Regions from separate parts of the Homo sapiens genome. Here regions 1 and 2 are each linked to region 3. Evidence: promoter capture Hi-C in 16 types of primary human blood cells and fetal thymus (Javierre and others, 2016). All regions are on one chromosome and are shown on one strand. The core of a region is centred on a gene start or on the middle of the fragment in contact, and the rest is flanking DNA. Distances in the headings are between cores, read along the strand shown.

Region 1 (2,859 bases), core at 269-2,768, 360 kb before region 3:
CTGTCTGTAAAACACACTTTGAGAAATATCCATTTATACACTCTTTTTACACTAAAATGTCTTTAACAATGAAATCAAAGTTTACCACCATCTCCATGAACAGCAACACCATTATCTAATCCTTTTCCTCTTCTCTACTTCACTCCTTTATTCCATTCCTGCACCGACCCCACCCCAAGATAACGGAAGTATCCTCTCCCAAGCTGCTTAGGACATTTACCACAAATGAACCTAGGAAAAGACAATTCTCATAAAAAATTACAACCAATTTCCTTTTGTCCTGCAATCAACATGGCTGCAAATTAAGAGTTTTAGAGAAGGGCTTATTGATTGGTTTTAGTTGTTAAACCAAACATTCAAGAAGTTGTTTGGTTTTATTGTTTGGTTTTGTTTTCCTCTGGACTGAATGTTTTTAGAAACTTATTTTTTCATGGCAAAATCAATACATGTAAGTTGTTAAAATTCAAATAGATACATGTAAAAAAAAGAAAGTACAAAATTACCCCAAAGAACCTCAGTGATAACCACTGATTTGTATACCTTTTCAGATTTTTTTCTGTGCATATACAAACATATATACACAAATAATGTTTCTAATATAGAACCAGAATTGAGAATCTCTGATTTCAGCCAGTCACAGTTAGGGAATAAAATGAAGTTAATCCAAATCAGCTGGAACACTCTAAAAAGTGTTACTATTTTAATGTACCCAAGAACAAAGAAATTTCACCAGTATTTAAATTTGTGCGTTAAACACCTTTAGGCAAGTTACAAGCCTGTCATAGTTCTAATATTTAAGTTACAGGCTGCCTTAGAACGAAGAACTGAGTTCCTGAGGTGTAAGGAAAATCATGGGTTCTTAAAGGCAAAGAGCCAAGCAACTAGTTAACGCCTCCCTACCAAGTCCAAAAGACTAGTCTTACCTGTGGACTATGTGGAGTCTGGACCCCTCTGCATCAGACCCCAAAGTGGAATTACACAGGTTGAAAGAAATCAAAACTGAAATCCTAAGGGGAGTAACCAGGACACTTGCAGTGCAGGTCATTAGCGTGATTGTTGCCAAATTCAAAGCAGAAAGGTGTTAAATGGCTTTTGTAGGGATCAAAACAACATGTGACAGTAGTTCATGCAGATCTGCCACACACATGTATATGCTATTCGCTATGGATGAATCGAGAAAACAACGTCCTCTCTAAAAATGTACATGAACAGTTAGGAGCAACAAATCTTCTTCCATACAGGACTGAAATTAACCGCAGTCAGGTCGGCAGCAGGAGGTTCCAACGAGGCTCCCTGGCTGGCTGCGGCTGCACCCTCGAGGGTTGTTATAGTAACCACACAGACGCACGCAGCTTCGCGTGTGTGCCGAGGAATTCACGGGCAGTACATAAACTGGACTCCCTGCTTCATTCGGAGTAACAAAAACACATACAGAATTTAATCTACGGCCCCACCTGCAATTTCTGCAAGATCGGCTTGACTTCTTCCTCTTCATCAGCCATCATCTCCCGGCCACTCCACCCCCAACTTTATAACCACAGAGACGCACGCCCTCTCTCACCGCGGAACCACAGCGACATCTGGCGTTCTGGAGGCTTTTCTGCCCCAGAAGGGCTTTGCTTCAAACCGACTTAACCATTTATTTCCACAGAGATGCTCTACAATCACTTGTGAGTTCATAAACTTCTTTCTTTCCCAGATCCTGGAAACAAAATGTCCTCAGCTTAATTTCTATATTCTTGTTTCATGTCTTCCTACTTATTTATACTAAGATTATAATACTCCATAAAGAAGAGAGTTTAAGAAGTGCACACCTGTGTTGTTTGAAATTTCGAAAGCCATGTAGTACAATAGCTACTTTACTCAATCTTTTCCAAACTTTGCAGTAATTTTCTATGTATGATTAATTTTATCATTTTAATGCACTATCTTAATAAATACTACACTTGGGATGGCTCATAAAAACCACCATGCTCTACACTAACAATGCCTCCATATTTATAGACAACATCCAGAAGGATATATAAGAAAGGATGACTGTCTCTGCAGAGGGAAACACAGAAACTGGGGAACTGTGGGTGAGCGAAGAAAATTTTCACTGCCTGCCCTTTTGAATTTTCTTGCCATCTATATGTATCACCTATTCAAATATAAACATTTTTAAATAAAAAATTATTTGCTTCTACATAGTCTCTGGAAAGAGACACAAGACACTGGCAAGACTATCGCTTACAAAGAGCAGAAGTGAGTGGCTGGAGCAAAAATGAGTGACCAGGGAACTGGGGTAGACTTTTCACTCTATGCCTTTTTTGTAACTTTAAAGTTTGTACCTTGTGAATATATTAAACTTCTGAATAAATCTTTTAAAGTGTCATGTAATATTCCTGGCAGTTTTGCTTTACTTTTTTAGTTTTAATTACAGCTTCAAGCTGATTCTGTGAAACTAACAAAGAAGTAAAACGTTCAAGGCAGAAATCATGAATATACATAAAATCATTTCCTCAAATCATTTTCCAACATAAAGGAAATAGTTTGTATTGTAACCTATAAAATCTATGTCGTTAGCTGTAAAATAGGGAGGGATGTTTTAAAAATTTTTTTTTGAGATGGAGTCTCACTGTGTAGCCCAGGCTGGAGTGCAATGGCGCCATCTCGGCTCACTGCAACCTCGGCCTCCCAGGTTCAAGCGATTCTCCCGCCTCAGCCTCCCGAGTAGCTGGGGCTACAGGTGCATACCACCACGCCCGGCTAATTTTTTGTATTTTTAGTAGAGACGGGATTTCACCGTGTTAGCCAGGATGGTCTCGATCTCCTGACCTCATGATTCACCCGCCTCAGCTTCCCAAAGTGCTAGGATTA
Region 2 (2,922 bases), core at 9-2,508, 370 kb after region 3:
ATCTGTAGTGCTTCTGGCCAGAGAAAAGGCCGAAGAGAGAAAACCCTGAGGAACATCTTTGACCTGCATAGAAACTTATCTGAAGATTTTCAGAATCTGAGCCTCACCCTCAGTCTATCCCAGTTTTATCCTGACCTGTCCACATCTGTTATACTCCAAGGCTTGCTGGGCCCAACACTGGAAGCTATTTAATGTTTCTATTGCGACTGGCCTTTTAAAGCCAGTGGGATTCTCCATGCTACACTTGAGCCTGGAGACTAGAAAACATGACAGCCTGTTTTCATTAATCCGTTTTCATTAACTGCTGTGGTCTGAATGTTTATGTTGTCCACAGATTCATATATTAAAATCCTAACTCCCGGCTGGACGCAGTGGGTCACACCTGTAATCCCAGCACTTTGGGAGGCTGAGGCAGGTGGATCACTTGAGGTCAGGAGTTCGAAACCAGCCTGGCCAACATGGCAAAACCCCGTCTCTACTAAAAATGCAAAAATTAGCCAGGCATAGTGGCTGGGCTAATCCCAGCTACTGGGGAGGCTGAGGCATGAGAGTCGCTTGAATCCTGGGACTGGAGGTTGCAGTGCCCCAGGATCATGCCACTGCATTTCAGCCTGGGCAACAGACAGCGAGACTCCATCTCAAAATAAATACGCAAATAAATAAAATAAAATCCTAACTCCCAAAGTCATGGTATTAGGAGATGGGGCATTTTGGGGGGTGATTAAGTTTTATGAGGGCAGAGCCTTTCTGAATGGGATTCATACCCTTATAAATAGGCCCAAGGGAACTCATTCACCCCTTCTACCATGTGAGGACACAGCAAGAAGGTGCCATCTATGGACCGGAAAGCAGCCCTCACCAAACACTGAATCTGCCAGCACCTTGATCTTAGACTTCTCAGCCTTCAGAGCTCTGAGAAATAAATGTCTGTTGTTTATAAGCCACCCAGTTTGATATTTTGTTCTAGCAGCCCAAACAGACTACAACACCTTCCCTGGGCTCGCCTCAGCTTCTGTTGTGGGGCAGAGCATAAGGCAATTTGACTAGGACCCAGAGGATGGGTAAGCTTGGCTGAAATGATGGAAATGTGATCATCTGAAAAGGTCAGAAAGTTGGCAGTTTGCTCAATTCGGCATGCAAGGTAGGGAGACCAAAAGCCCCCTCCTTTGAAGGCAATGGCTGTAGCTGGGGCCAGAAGTGATGTCACATAACCACTGCTGAGGTCATAGAATCTTCCCTCTCCTCCCTCTGTCTCCTCATTGCCACAGCCAACCGGCTCCCACATATCTGCACACACTTAAATACAAAGGCCGGGAAGGGTCAGACCACCATCCGGGTACTCTAAGGTACATAAAAGAGGTAGGGGAAAGAGAGGATCATTCAGTAGGTAGGATCCACACTGGTATCTCCAATGCTGGGAATGGGAGACTCATGCTGTAGTTGCGTAGGTGCAATGGGAGCTGGGAGGGAGAAAGGAGAGAGCAACAGGGAAGAGGGGAGCTGTTCCTGTTGCTGACTGATTTTACCATAACACTCATCCTCATTACTCCACAGTCCTCCCTCCCCCTTCTCCTTCACCCCCAAGTGTCTCCCACGACTGCCCTCCCCGACCTCTAGCTGACCATGGCATCAGAGGCAGAAAAAACATTCCATCGGTTTGCTGCGTTTGGAGAATCATCAAGCAGTGGCACTGAAATGAACAACAAGAACTTCTCCAAGCTGTGCAAAGACTGTGGCATCATGGATGGCAAGACAGTCACCTCCACGGACGTGGACATCGTGTTCAGCAAAGTCAAGTGAGGAGCCAAAAATATGGAGGTGGGGGTGAGAAGAACCTGCGAGGTAGTTGGCCACGGAAGGGTTCACGTGGTGGAACATTTGCAGTGGGCCTACCAAGCACCACAGGGTACCTGGCGCTGTGCTATCCTTTGTCTTCGAGACACTCACTGATTGATAGGACAAAAGAGGCCAAATCTGAGTGAGGCAAGAGTTGGACCTTGGAAGGTAATGCATTCATGCTCCAAAGTTTCTGGATTTCTGTCTAACTGACCAGGGCCAAGAACGCCCGAACCATCACGTTTCAACAGTTCAAAGAGGCAGTGAAGGAACTGGGCCAGAAGCGCTTCAAAGGGAAGAGTCCAGATGAAGTCCTGGAGAACATTTATGGACTCATGGAGGGCAAAGACCCAGCCACCACTGGCGCTACTGTGAGTGACAGCCTTCATCCCCTTGACCCTACTTCCCTAAATCCCCATTGTTCCAGTCTACCCTCCCTAACCCTGCCAACTGTGTGACTGTAGAGACAGGGCCGAAACAGACTTTAGAGATCATCTAGACATTCCAGAAGTCAGGAAAATGTGGCCCAGAGAAGGGAAGTGACTTGCCCAAGGTCCATGGCTATTTTAATAGTAGATTTAGACTAATTTCCAAGTGTCTAGTATCTGAGCCAGGCAATTAGGGCTTGGTAGCTTTTGGAGGACATTAGTGTAGAGAATTTGGTACCTGATGCCCACTCCTCTTCCAATTCTTATTTAGGGTTTAATCTCAGGCCTCCTGCCTCTCACCTACTCCCTTTTTTAATTGTCCTGTCTGAACTAAAAGCTCTTTCTACAGTGGATATTGAGTCGGGGAGTGGGAGTGAAGTCCTCAGGCAGCAGCCTAGTCAGAATAACTCCTCTGGAAACAAAAAACCTACCCTCCCTCTGCACACGCCACACTCATTCCCACACCACACTCCTCCTCCCCCATGAGTGAACGGCTCTTACCAGAGTACCTGCCCACAGCTGTATCTGGGCCCTAAGAAAGCAGCACCCCATGCCAGTGGCAGAGCAAGAGCTCCAAGCACTTGTTCTAAGTATCTCGGGCCATCTTTGGGGAAGGGATATGACAGCGTAAGGAAAGGAAGAGAGCTCAAATCCATCC
Region 3 (2,811 bases), core at 262-2,761:
AGCCTAGGTTCCAAAAAACCTGGTACCGCCACATCTTATCAAGGACATATCCAGTATAGACCAAAGGTTCTACTTTGGTTTCTGTTTGCTGATCTCTGCAGCAATGTCATTCGAGGCTGGGATCTCTCTGGGGCTGCAGAGCTACAGAATGTTGCTGGGGCACTGGTGAGTCCACAGCTCTGCCCCTTTCCATCAGCAGTGGGAAGCAGGAAAGGCTGATACAACAGAGAAGAGGTAGGGAATAGGCCGTAGGGGGAGAACAGGATCTGCTTTCTAGGAGGGGAAGACATGTGTACTCTCTAGTTTGAGACGCAGAGTGAAAAAGCAGTTATGCCCATCGGGTAGGGGAGAGTGGTCACCGGGTTCCCAGAAGGCCTCTGAGAACCAAATTTCCATCACTGTTTTGCTTGCAGTGCTCTCTGTGATAATTTTCATCTGTATATCAAGCGTCTGAAGATTTTTTTTTTTTTCCCCAGAGCATAGGATGGGACCAGGGGACACTCATTGTGGTTCCTCTCTGGCTCATACTTTGATGAACCCACTTCATCTTCCCAGAGGTGAAGCCCAGTTGGTGAAAGCCAAGCCCATTTCCTGCTTCATGCTCTCAGATTGTGCCAGCCATCTTCCTCTTGTAGAAGGCGCAACCTTCCAGCTGTGCCTGCAGAGCCCCCACATAAAAGTGAGCATGCTGCTCAGATGCAACAAGCCAGTGGCCTAAGGAGGTGAACTTGTGTACCTCTGCAAGGTGGCAGCTGCCACCCAAGCTTCAATTCTGCTCCCTGCCAGGGACCCAACAGCCCCCAACCCTCCCGGGTCACTGAAGTTCTTTCCAAGTCTGCCCTTTTATACTCTCTTTCCCTCTCTCACACCTTCACAACCAGTAAGACACTTGGTATAGGTGTTTTTGCAGACTTTGAACTGAGTGGAAGGTATCTTTCTTCTTCCAGCAGGAGCCCAAAGTTTACTGTAGCAACATTAAAAGGTGCGAAGGCTCGGGAAATGTGAGGCTTGGTGTATGTGGGAAGGGGGCACATTTTTGTTCTCAACCTGAAGGAAAATATTATGGAGCCAGTGGAAGCCCTATTTATTAAGAAAATCTCAGGGCGGCAACTCTCTCCCACAAATAGACAAAACAAAACAGAAATGAACATTTTCTGTCTGTATACATCTATACATTACAAGCAAAAGATAATGAGAGAACTAGAGTCAGAGAAAAACAGAGAGAGAGAGAGAGAATGCTCAGATAGAAAAGCATTTGCTAGAGACCTGGAGAAGGAGATGAGAGAGAGACAGCATAGAGAGCATTTTTTTTTTTTCCTGAGGATGTCACAGTTGTCTCTGACCCTTTTCTCTTCCAGCAGGCTTGATCTTCTAGGAGTTGATGGTGGGCCCACTGGTTTAATAGATCGAGAGATCTATCAATGGTGAGCACACAATGTTGCTAGAGTCCATGGCCCTCAGCACCCAGAGCAGTCTGTGGATAAAAGTGAAAGAGCTCTGGATGGTGGGGGTGCGAAGGGGGTTGGGGAGAGGGGCTGACTGGGTCACAAAGCAGAAGCAAGGGGCCCTTTGCGTTGAAGAGTACCTGTCCCTGGACTGTGGGAAGAATGAGTGGGCTTACGGGCGTGTTTCCTGGCCACAGCACAGGTGTGGAAACCAGGTGATCAGGAAAGGTTTCTCTGGGTTTTGACTGGGAGGGTGTGGGTGGATACTAGTTGGAGGCTGCAGGGCGTTTGACCAGGCACCAGGTGGCATTGCATGCAAAAGCATCGGGCACTTCCTTCGAGCCGGAATCGAACCAGCGACCTAAGGATGTCCGCAAATGTCTGTACAATCTACAGTCCTCCGCTCTACCAGCTGAGCTATCGAAGGGTGCACGCTGCAAGAGCTGGATCACTGGACTTTCCGCAAATGGAGGAAGCCAAGTCCTTGGAACGCTGGAGTCAACACACTTAGAGTTGATTGGAACCCGCCTTAGAAGAGAACCTTGCGCTGGTTGCCACCGCGCACCTCTCAGGGTGGAGCAAATCCTCCGAGTGTGGTTTCCTCGCGTCCCAGAGCGCTGATAGCCACAATCCAGGACGGGAGGCTCTCGCCTGTGGCCTTCCTCCACCTGTGCATCTCTGTTTTTACAAGTGAGGATGACAGCCCTCAGCGAAAGAAAACAAGAGGGTGAGAGGGCTCGGTCAGAGGGATGGGCTAGGTGGATGGGTGGATCCTGTGGGACAGGGGTTGCAGGAGGAGGAAAGAAGAACTCGGAAAGCTTCTGGGTGGGCGGCCGCTATCCGCAGACCAGCTGCAGGGTCTGCTGAAAGTCCTTAAGCAGCCCTTTCCTAAAACTCTGGCCTTCCTACTCCCTTCCCGGCCAACACACACATGCCCCTTCTCCCGATGTGCCTCCGCCCTTTTCCCTACAGTGTCCTATGCTTGCTTTTTGGCGCATTCAAGTGTGCTAGAAGTGAGAGAGAGAACAAATGGGACTAGGTGAGAAGAACTCGCCCAGGGCTTGCAGATGCACTGTGATACCCTCCTTCCTCCCCAGCGCCCAACTGGGGCTTGGCTTCCCTCCTCTGCAAACTGACCAAGAACTCTTTTTTTTTTCTCCCCCAGAGGCTTCCTCTTTCTGAAGTAGGGCAAGTATATTAGTCCGTTTTCATGCTGCGGATAAAGACATACCCGAGACTGGGATGAAAAAGAGGTTTAATTGGACTCACAGTTCCACATGCCTAGGGGGCCTCAGAATCATGGCTGGAGGTGAAAGGCACTTCTTCTTCTTCTTCTTCTTCTTCTTCTTTTTTTTTTTTTTTTTTT

What was found. The method cuts DNA at HindIII sites, captures the fragments that hold promoters and counts their contacts. A CHiCAGO score of 5 or more calls a contact.
Region 1: the fragment with the promoter of TTC5 here is called in contact with a fragment that was not itself captured in region 3 in 8 of 17 cell types (total CD8 T cells, activated CD4 T cells, non-activated CD4 T cells and 5 more); the score reaches 7.6 in total CD8 T cells.
Region 2: a contact is called between the fragment with the promoter of TPPP2 here and a fragment that was not itself captured in region 3, in 2 of 17 cell types (monocytes and M1 macrophages). The highest score is 5.3, in monocytes.

The regions. Positions count from the first base shown.
Region 1 is chr14:20,304,433-20,307,291 of GRCh38, forward strand. It overlaps TTC5 (tetratricopeptide repeat domain 5), which reads right to left and starts at 1,519. Exons shown (of 10, transcript NM_138376.3): 1 at 1,455-1,519. The coding sequence starts at 1,505. RefSeq lists an enhancer at 1,425-1,664. The HindIII fragment of the contact is 10,592 bases long and covers 1-2,859 here.
Region 2 is chr14:21,028,959-21,031,880 of GRCh38, forward strand. It overlaps TPPP2 (tubulin polymerization promoting protein family member 2), which reads left to right and starts at 1,259. Exons shown (of 4, transcript NM_173846.5): 1 at 1,259-1,346; 2 at 1,555-1,796; 3 at 2,054-2,207. The coding sequence starts at 1,624. It also overlaps a transcript of NDRG2 not described here. The HindIII fragment of the contact is 5,962 bases long and covers 1,065-2,922 here.
Region 3 is chr14:20,661,414-20,664,224 of GRCh38, forward strand. It overlaps TRY-GTA5-4 (tRNA-Tyr (anticodon GTA) 5-4), which reads right to left and starts at 1,872; the gene lies at 1,779-1,872. It overlaps LOC124903281 (a long non-coding RNA gene), which reads left to right. Exons shown (of 2, transcript XR_007064059.1): 2 at 1-1,000. RefSeq lists silencers at 9-228, 2,177-2,246 and an enhancer at 1,787-2,066. The HindIII fragment of the contact is 1,499 bases long and covers 763-2,261 here.